Regions from separate parts of the Homo sapiens genome. Here region 2 is linked to region 1. The links are contacts of gene promoters, found by promoter capture Hi-C in human tissues and cell types (Jung and others, 2019). All regions are on one chromosome and are shown on one strand. Each heading gives the region's core, a stretch centred on a gene start or on the middle of the fragment in contact. The rest is flanking DNA. Distances are from core to core; before and after follow the strand shown.

Evidence for each region. Contacts are between HindIII fragments. The study calls those that stand out against the background at their distance.
Region 2: the fragment with the promoter of MSI1 here is called in contact with the fragment with the promoter of ACADS in region 1 in 2 of the 25 tissues and cell types used here (IMR-90 fibroblasts and lymphoblastoid cells).

What each region holds. Positions count from the first base shown.
Region 1 is chr12:120,723,915-120,728,900 of GRCh38, reverse strand. It overlaps ACADS (acyl-CoA dehydrogenase short chain), which reads right to left and starts at 3,075. Exons shown (of 10, transcript NM_000017.4): 1 at 2,970-3,075; 2 at 1,712-1,875. The coding sequence starts at 3,015. RefSeq lists a silencer at 2,756-3,265 and an enhancer at 2,902-3,403. The HindIII fragment of the contact is 31,377 bases long and covers 1-4,986 here.
Region 2 is chr12:120,366,764-120,371,749 of GRCh38, reverse strand. MSI1 (musashi RNA binding protein 1) reads left to right here and starts at 2,586. Exons shown (of 15, transcript NM_002442.4): 1 at 2,586-2,717; 2 at 2,877-2,917; 3 at 3,477-3,558; 4 at 3,658-3,742. The coding sequence starts at 2,659. It also overlaps the pseudogene RPS27P25. The HindIII fragment of the contact is 19,353 bases long and covers 278-4,986 here.

The sequences.
Region 1 (4,986 bases), core at 1,826-4,325:
CCTGCAGCACCTGCTGCCTTCATATCTGGGAAACGGTTAGTGGGTCCCTCATATAAAAACAATGTTTTACGTCCCTTTTAAAACTCATTTTTAAGGCCGGGTGTGGTGGCTCACGCCTGTAATCCCAGCACTTTGCGAGGCCGAGGCGGGTGGATTGCCTGAGCTCAGGAGTTTGAGACCAGCCTGGGCAACACGGTGAAACCCCGTCTCTACTAAAATACATAAAATTAGCCGGGTATGGTGGTGTGCGCCTGTAATCCCAGCTACTCGGGAGGCTGAGGCAGGAAACAATTGTTTGAACTCAGAAGGCGGAGGTTGCAGTGAGCCGAGATCGCGCCACTGCACTCCAACCTGGTGACAGAGCAAGACTGTCTCAAAAAATTTTTAAAAATAAAAAATAAATTAAAATTAAAATTAAAAAAAAAAACAGGCAAGGAGAAGAGGCCGGAGAGGTTTGACTTTTCACAAATCATTAATTAAACAACTATCTACTACTGAGTGTTTACACCAGGTGCTGGACATCTTTAGGTCAGCGTGTACGGCAGTAACATCTTCAACGCGTAGCTGCAGACAGACTGAATGCAAATGGAAGAACACAGTGGCACGGGAGGGAGCGCGCTGATGGGAAACTCAGGGGAGAAAACAGTTCAAGCAGGCCGGGCACGGTGGCTCACGCCTGTAATCCCAGCACTTTGGGACGCCAAGGCGGGCAGATCGCCTAAGGTCAGGAGTTTGAGACCAGCCTGCCCAACATGGAGAAACCCCATCTCTACTGAAAGTACAAAAACTAGCTGGGCGTGGTGGTGCCCGCCTGTAATCCCAGCTACTGGGGGCCGAGGCAGGAGAATTGCTTGAACCCAGGAGGCAGAGGGGTGCAGTGCGTTGAGATTGCGCCACTGCCCTCCAGCCTGGGCAACAGAGCGAGAGTCCATTTCAAAAAAAAATAAGTAAATAAAAAAGAAAATAGGTCGAGCAGGCTGCCGCTGATGAGCTCCATGACCTTGGGTATGTTATTTAACTTGTTCACAAGTCTGAGTCCATGGGGTATATAATAATACTACCTTTGGCCGGGCGTGGTGTCTCACACCTGTAATCCCAGCACTTTGGGAGGCCGAGGTGGGCAGATCACCTGAATTCAGGAGTTTGAGACCAGCCTGGCCAACATGGTGAAACGCCGTCTTTACTAAAAATACAAAAGTAGCGGGGCAGAGCAGTGCACGCCTATAATCCCAGCTACTTGGGAGGCTGAGGCAGGAGAATCACTTGAACTCAGGAGGCAGAGGCTGCAGTGAGGCGAGGTCGCACCATTGCACTCCAGCCTGAGCCACAAGAGTGAAACTCCGTCTCAAAAAAATAAATAAGAATAGTACCTTCACCTCACAGGACCGTTGTGAGGAACAGATGAGATAACCCATCTCAAGAACAGTGCCTAGTGCATGCCAAACACCCTAAAGGCACTATTTAGAATGAGCACAGTGGCTGGCACAGTAAGCAACTGACCATCCACCACATATTACTGTTGTCCCAGAAGTTAAGTCCTGGCTACTGGCCACAGGCTGGACAAGGGAAACTTCCAGAGCATTTTCTGGGTTCCAGGCCCTGCTTTGGGGTTCCTCTACCAGAGTCCGAGTGCCGCTGACTGTCACTGCCACCATTCATCCAGTAGCAGAGGGCAGACCACTATCGTGGGCTGCTGAGGTTGCACTCTCACCTGAGCCGCTGGGAAGAGATGTTCCTTATCCACCTGGGCTGCAATGGGAAACAACTCCTTCTCGGCAAAGTCCCGGCATGTCTGGAGCAACATCTGGTGTGTCTCGGGCAGTTCCACAGACTGGTAGATGGTGTGTAACTGCCGCCAGGCCCTAGGACAGAGAGCTGCCGGCAAGGGCAGAAGTGAGTGGAAGGAGGAGGCAGGAGGTCTCCAAGAATCCTAGTGACCCACTAACTCACCAGGGAGGATTTTGCCCTCCAAGGGACATCTGGCAATGTCTGGAGCCAGTTCTAGTTGTCACAACTAGAGCAGGGGAATACTATTGGTACCCAGTGGATAGGGGTCCGGGATCCCTGCTGAACATCCAACAAGGCAGAGGACAGCCCCCACAACAAAGAACTGTCAGCCCAAAATGTCCATGGCGGCCACTGAAAACCCCATACTAACTGAATGCTTAGTACACTCACTAGACATTTCCATACACTACATCCTTCAGTCCTCAGTATAATACCAACAGTAATAAGACCTCAGCTCTGTGACCTTAGGCAAGGGTTTTAAACGTCAGTGAGCCTCCGTTTCTATAACAAGTGGAGGCGAATAGTATTCCGCTCCTCGGAGTGCGAAAGAAAGACTAACTAGCGCTTAACACAGTTCTCAGTAGCGTTCCCCTTGTAATTCAGGCCAGGCAAAGGAAGCCGTGGCTATATGTGTCACGGCTGCTACAACTGGAGACACGTAAGATGGGAAAGGTACTGTATTAACCAGCAAGAACGAGCATTTGTGGAACACCTGTTACACGCCAGGCACGAAGTGCTTTACATACCCTATGATTTAATCCTCCCAACAACTCTGATTTTCTCTGTGGACATTTTACACATGGGCCAACCGAGGCTGAGGAGGGGCTGTCTTGCCCAAGGTCACAGATGCGGGTCTGGTTCAATCCCAGGCCTGGCTCCGGAAGAAGGACGCACCCTGAACCTCTAGTGGGGGTGAAATGAAGGGAGGGAGATATGGGAACTGGGAACTGGGCTGGTGGCTGGGGTCAATCGGGGGGTAGGGGTCTGTGCAGGAACCAGGGACGCCTGAAGGGCCGGGCTGGGTCGGCGCAAGGAGCAGCAGAACTGGGGCAAAGGCCGTGAGCGCTCCCGGAGTGGGGCTCCGCCTGCCAGCGGCTCTGACAGAGCCGGCCGCCAGGACCTCCGCCCGCTGGGCCAGACGCGGGCTGAAGCCCCGCCGTACGGATCCCCAGCGCACTCACCTCTGCGGGCAGGGCCCGAGGCCCGGGCGAGCAGCGCGGCGGCCATGGGCGACAGACACAGTCCCAGGCTTCGCGACCTCCCGCTGCGAGCGCGCTGTTCCGGAGTGCTGGGGGGCGGGACCCGGGACAGAGGCCACGCCCGTAGGGCCTCGGGAGCGGGGCCGAGGTGCGCTCGCGGCCAGGGGGCGGGGCCTCCAGTGGTCCCTCCCAAGGCGAGGAACCGACGCTCGACTGCGCGCGCGGTCGGTCAGCTGGCTGTTCGTGCCCACATTCGTTAATCAAAATGCTAACAAGAGAAAGCTAAGGATAGAGCTTCGCAGAAAGGCCAGAGAGGTCTTTTTAAAGCATAAATAAGATAGCGATCTTCGGGTTAAAACTTTGTTGGCTTTGTCGGCGGGCCCATCCCTCCTAAAATCCAATTCTATGGCTTAAAAAGCCAAGACCTGCCTTGTCTATCAGGGCCCATGCCCACCGTTCCCTGGTTATTGTTGCTTAGCTTTACGAGGCAGCTCTTCTCTAAGACCCTTAGCTGGTTCCTGACTCGGGGCCTCTGTGATCACTGTTCCTTTTGTCTGGAATGCCCCCTCTTCGTTTAGGTCTCATGGATGCCTGCCCTGACCACACCAAGCCGTTTCTCCCCCTCTGGCTCTCTATCTTTCGTTCTGTTTATTCAAGGCACTTTGCATCTGAAATTATCTGCTTCCCCGACTCGCTCCGAGAAGCTCAAGGACCTGTCTTGTGTTGGTGCTCAATATTTAGGCCCCTGGAGTTGGGCTGCAAGGAAAGCTTTCTTTTCCCCAGAGGCTGTGAAGGTGGGTGGAGATGCTACCCCCGTTCCACTTCAGTACTGTGTCTCATTCCCGATTGGGGCAGAACCCAGACACATATTTGACCCCTAGCATCCTCATCAGGACACCTTTGCCCCGCCCAAGAAACTATGCTGATTTTACTTGTCCCATAAGGGTCTTCTCTTGTGCAAGTGTGATTCTGATTCCCATAGCCTCCTGGGCACCACCCACGCCCTCCCAGGCACCCACACATCCCTCCAACTGCCTTTCTTTCCCAGCACTCAGCCAGGCAGGCATCTGTTCCCAGCATTGACCTATTTGCCAAAACTTCTGTCTCTTCCTCTTGGAGGAAAGTGGAAACCTCGGTCACTACTTCCTAGAAGAAAGCCAATCAAAAGATGCAGCAAAGTCCTTAATGTGTTACCTTTCTTTTTAAATAATGCATTTAAAAGAACGCCTCTAAATTCTCAGTACTTTAAAGTCAAATGAATGGCTCCCATTGGCAAATGCTCTAAGGGCTTCCTCACCTTTCCGTCATCCCACCTGGGAACCAGCCCTGGGTGGAAGAAACGATGAAGAAGCAGGAGAAAAGGGAGAAATAAGTGAGTTGTGTTTGTGAGCAAAGGCCAATAATTGCTTCAGGTGCCACAGAGCATCTAAACCAGACTCTTGAGAATTTGTGACTGTAAATATGAACGTTCAAATTTCATTTTAAAAGTATCCAAGTTTTCCAATAGAGACAGAATCAGATAGTGGTTGCAAGAGGCGAAGTGGGGGAAGTCACCTGGCTGCAAACACAAGGAACTCAGGAACTTTCTGAGTGGGTACGATGGAAATGTCCTATATCATGATTGTGATGGGTAATAAAAGTATTCATTTGTCAAAATGCATCAATACTCTTAATTGAGGTAAATTTTACTGTAGTTAAAGTATTTCTTAATAAGCCTACCTTTATGGCCAGCCACAGTGGCTCACACCTGTAATCCCAGAACTTTGGGAGGCCAAGGCGGGTTGATCACCTGAGGTCAGGAGTTCAAGACCAGCCTGGCCAACATGGGGAAACCCTGTCTCTACCAAAAATACAGAATTAGCCGGGCGTGGTGGCATGCACTTGTAATCCCAGCTACTTGGGAGGCTGAGGCAGGACAATCACTTGAACCCGGGAGGCGAAGGGTGCAGTGAGCCACCATCATGCCATCACATCCCAGCCTGGGAAAAAAGAGCGAAAC
Region 2 (4,986 bases), core at 1,337-3,836, 360 kb after region 1:
ACACAGCATTGGCTGACTCTGAACAGATGCCTTTACCCATTTCCTTTTTTTTTTTTAATCCAAAATGTGTTTATTGAGATGGTTTCCCACTCATCTTGATTCAGAGTGCTTTGGGTGCTGCTTCCTCCTGAAGGAACATCCTTCTGTAGCCTTCCTTTTCCTCCTGTAGGCTGGCAGAGAACAGTGGAGCAGGCAACACACAAAACTACCGTTTGTGCATGGCTACAGACCATGGTGATTTTATAGCATCCTGGGCATGTCATATCCATGAAGTAGGAATCGGGACTCTGCACCAGGCGTTTCTTCTTCTGTTTCCTCTTCTCTTCTGGAGAAGGATGAAGGAGATCCCTGTCGAGAGGCATGTTCTCGTGGGTAGGTCGCCACTGCCGGAAAGGACCCATTTCCTATCCTTCAAGCTCATCTGCCCAGCAGCACCAGCACACAAACCAAAGTCCAGGAACACTGGAAGATCCCTACTCCCCGCACCTCTCCAATGACCCTTTTTAAGTTCAGACCTAAGAAGAGTCACCTCCCTAATACCGCAGAGGCTACCTGCTCACCCTCATCTGTGTCTCTGCTACAACACAAACTGGAATGCTTTTGTGTCGGAATGGTAAGAAATGCCTTGTGTGGGTGGCCCTCCAGTCCCCAGTCCAGGGGATGCTGAGAAACTGTGGGGCAGAGTAGGGGACACAAACAGGAAAAAGCAAGTTTGTTTCTAGTGTTATGCTCACAGGGTGGCAGGATATACCTGCTGAGCATTCCCAGAAGGTCCCCAAGGAAACCATTACTGTAAGTCTCTCACTTTCTTCTCTGCCTGATGGTTGGGGTGGGGAGAGGGAAGGAGGGCTATCAAGAGGGGGATGGGCACCCTTCCAGAGGTCAGAGTTATGATGCCCAGGAATAAAAGGTGTTGAATTCAGGATGGAATGTGAAGGTGAACAGCAAAGGGCTTGTCAACATGGGTTGTCACTGGATTACACCGGATGGATTAAGGTAGGGATGGGGGAAGGAGTAGAAGGTGAGTTGGGAGGGAGGGGCTTGTGTGGCACTGAGACCCCCAGCAGGGATGGGGAGAAGGGGTGTTGGCCACCTAAGCTTCCTGGTTTGATCCTTTTTTGGCTGGTTTCAGCTGGGGAAGTGAAGGGTCCTAAGGCTTGGATATGGAGAGGTGGGAATATGGAGAGGTGGGGATATGGAGAGGCGGGGATAAGGAGAGGTGGGGATAAGGAGAGTGGCCCCGCAGCTCCCCTGGTGAACCAGAATACTTTCTCAGGGTTGTTCCCAGGCTGGAGGGAGGGAATTTTAGGGGTACGTAAGGTGACTCCAAGGAGCCTTGGGTGCAAGTACTGGGGGATCCCAGAGACCCAGAAGATGGGGGTAGAAAGGAAGGTGTTTGCCTTCACGGGGAGTAGCCTCAAAATAAGAGGGACTGAGGGAAGTCATTCCAAATGCAGTGGGTAGGTAGTTTAGGCTCTTCCAATGGGATGGGGTGGAGCTTAGACCTCTGCAAAAGAAGGGGGTCATTCGGAGGGGACGGTGCACAGCTGAGGCGTTGGGCTCCTAAACTGGAAACAGGAGGCTCTAAGAGGCACTGCCTTTTCCTCCAGCCTCGGTGTGGTGGGGGTGGTGAGTGTCTGGAACCGGGTTTCCCGAATCAGGACAGGAGTCTGAATGGATCTCACAAAAACCGGCCAGGGAGGGAGAGAACCAGGGGAGACTCCTCACACCGGGAGGTGGGGGTGGCGGCAAACTGAGAACCCGGGCTTGGGGCGCGGGATTTTCTCAACAGACCATAGGGTCCACTAATGTGGACGGCAGGGATTTGGGGAAACTAAGGGGGACTCTCACTTTGGACACCAAGGGCTGAGGACGGATTGGGGAAGAGGATACGGTTTCTACTGGGGTGCTGATGGAGGTTCCCCACTCGGGACGCGAGGCACTGAGTGGGTCCCCCAAACTGGATATGGGATCCTGGGAACGGAGCGAGGGCTCTAAATTAGAGCCCTGGGGTGGGGGTGGGGGGCTGTAAATTAGGTTGGGAGGAAACTGGGGGCTCTGAGGGCGGCTTCTCGCTCCGACTGGGGAAATGGAGCATGTGGGGACTGGGGAGCACTAGGGCTATCTCCCGCCCGACCCGAGGAGATTGGGGTTCTCTTCAATTCTGGACAGCAGGGACCTGAGAGGGAAGACCGGGGGGGTTCCCGATCCGGAACCGAGCTACCTTGAAGGCACCGGGAAGCGCTTCATTCCGGGAGGGCGTTCCCGCGGCCGGGCCCCCGCGCCGGGGTGGGTGGGGGGTGCGGCCGCGCCCTGGTCCCGGCCCGCACCGGGATTCGGGGGTCTCGCTCGGCCCCGGAGACCCAGGAGCCCCGCGGGAAGGGGGTCCCGGCGCCGCCGCCTCCGCGGGCGCCCGGGCTCGCGGGCGAGCGCGGGGCTTTATGCGCGCAGGGCGGCGGGGGGAGGAGCCGGCAGGTCGGCCCCCGGCGGGCCCTCCCCTCGGCCGTCCCCGCCCGCCCGCCCGAGCGGGGTCGGGGGAGGGGGCAGCATGGCCTGTCCGTCCGGCCCCCTTCGCCGCGCTCCTCATCTGCCCCGCGCCGAGCGCCGCCGCCGCCGCCGCCGCCGCCGCTCCGCTGCCCGCGCCGCCCGCGGCTCCCGATGGAGACTGACGCGCCCCAGCCCGGCCTCGCCTCCCCGGACTCGCCGCACGACCCCTGGTACGGCCCGGCCCGGCCTGCTTGGCCCGCGCCCGCCCCGGCCCCGCCAACATGGCCGATCCGGGTCCGGCCGGGCCTCCCCGGAGCCCGGGCCCGCGCCCCCTGCGCCCTGGCGCCCGGCGCTCACGCGGGCCCTTTGTGTCTCTCCTCCTCCCGCAGCAAGATGTTCATCGGGGGACTCAGTTGGCAGACTACGCAGGGTGAGCGAGCCCGGGAGCGCCCGCCGGTCCGGCAGGGCACCCCGGACCCCCCGGCGCCCCGGACCCGGACACCCCAGCCCGGCCCTGCGCCCTGCTGACCCCGGGCGCCCTCGCGCCCTCTTTCGCGCCCCGCCCGGAGACCCCGAGAGCGCAGGGCGATCCGCGAGCGCACCCGGCCCAGCGGGTGGAGGGGAGCAGATGAGGGGTTCAGGGGGTATCGGGGGGTGGGCTGGGCCCCCGGGACCCGCCGGCGGCAGCGCCAACTCCGCTCGCACCTGCGGCTCAAACTTTTGTGAGGCTGCTCCCGGAGCGGCGGGAACCCGGCCGGAGCCGTCCCCCTTCCAGCCCAGCTCGGCCCTCGGCTTCCCGGGGCCCCGGTGGGCGCCAGGAGGCTCAGCGGGAACGGGGCGAGGGCGGTGGGGGGCGGCGGCAGTGGAGAACGCGCGGGCAGCTTGGCGCGGGGGCGGCCGGGCCGCTCCGGGGTCACCGGGGGCAAAGGACGGGGGGGGGGGAAGGGCGCGGGGCCCGGGCTGGTCCGAAGGCGGGTGTGTGGTTACAGAAGGGCTGCGCGAATACTTCGGCCAGTTCGGGGAGGTGAAGGAGTGTCTGGTGATGCGGGACCCCCTGACCAAGAGATCCAGGTGAGCCCCTCACCCCCTCCTCCTGCTCCCGGCTCGCCCCCCTCCACCCGCCACTCACTGCCTTGTAACCATCTGCCTCTCCCTCACTACGGCGCGCAGGGGTTTCGGCTTCGTCACTTTCATGGACCAGGCGGGGGTGGATAAAGTGCTGGCGCAATCGCGGCACGAGCTCGACTCCAAAACAGTGAGTGGCCCTCGGGGCTTCGGGGGTCCTTTGGGAGAGGGAGGCTGCCGGAGGAGAGGGTCAGGACTCTCCCCAGGGGACAGCTGGACGGGGTCCATGAGGAAGGAGGGAGTTTTTCTGAGTAAGAGGGCTGCCATGCTCTGAAACTTTGTCACTAGAGTTGGGGGGGAGAGGGAGGAGAAAAATCCCTGGCCTGCCATGAGATGCTACATCCCCCCTCCCCTAGTCCTGGTGAGGGGAGAGGCAGCCGCCACCCTCTCCCTAGAAGTACTAATCATGATGCCTCAGAGCAGAGCTTGGGGTGGGGCTAGGTCCCTCCCCCAGCCCAAATTGGGTGAGTCAGGGTAGCACTGACCCACCCGGTGGCTTCTGTGAACTCTAACTAGTATTTGGCTCTGCGACACCCCCTCTTCATCCAGACCAATGGCAAAGCATCCCTTGAAGCCCCCTCCCTCTCTCCTTCCCTCCTCCCCCGACTTTTGGTCAATGAGCTCCTTGCTTTGTGTGGAAGACAGGGACCTGCTTTGCCCACGGAGGGGATTTATGAGAAAGGCTCTAGCTTGCCTGGAAACGACCCTTCGGAAGACTAGATCTTAGGAGAAGCTGCTTGGTTGGCATTCAAACTCATGGAACATTTTGCTGTTGTCCCACAGCTCCTTCGTGTCTTAGACCCTGCAGGGGGCGCTGGCTCCAGGGCAGATGGAAAAGTAGAAAAGTCAGAGGAGGGGGTTACTCCCATGTGATGGGGGTGTCTGTCTGCTGGGGGCAGGGATAGTGTGGATCTCTTCTCTCCATGCTTCCCTGCTGTCCCCCAGCCTTGGGCCTCTCTGCTTGGGTCAGTCCCTGGCTCCCGTTTACCTGCAACAATAGCTGCTTGTGCCCAAGAATTTGTCAAATTACCGCCTGTCCCCAGCTCCTGTTATCTCTGCCCAGTGGCTCCCGCTCCCGCTCGCAGTAATGAGCAAATGAGGCCAGGCCTCAACTTTGCCGGCTCTGAAAGGATCTTCTTGGCGCAGCCTGAGTGACCCAAGCCTGGAAATGGAGAGACAGTGGCCTATTGTTTTTGGTGATTATCTGCCATCAAGCTGCCTGTTCTGCTACCATCCCCTGTCCTCAGAATGCACTGATGGCTTCTGCAGTGCTGAGGAAGCTGAGATTTAGGGGCTGGGGGATGGAGGAGTGGAAGATTGATAAAGGGGAAGAGAATGAGGGAGGAAGGAGGGTGAGATGAGCATCCTTAGGAG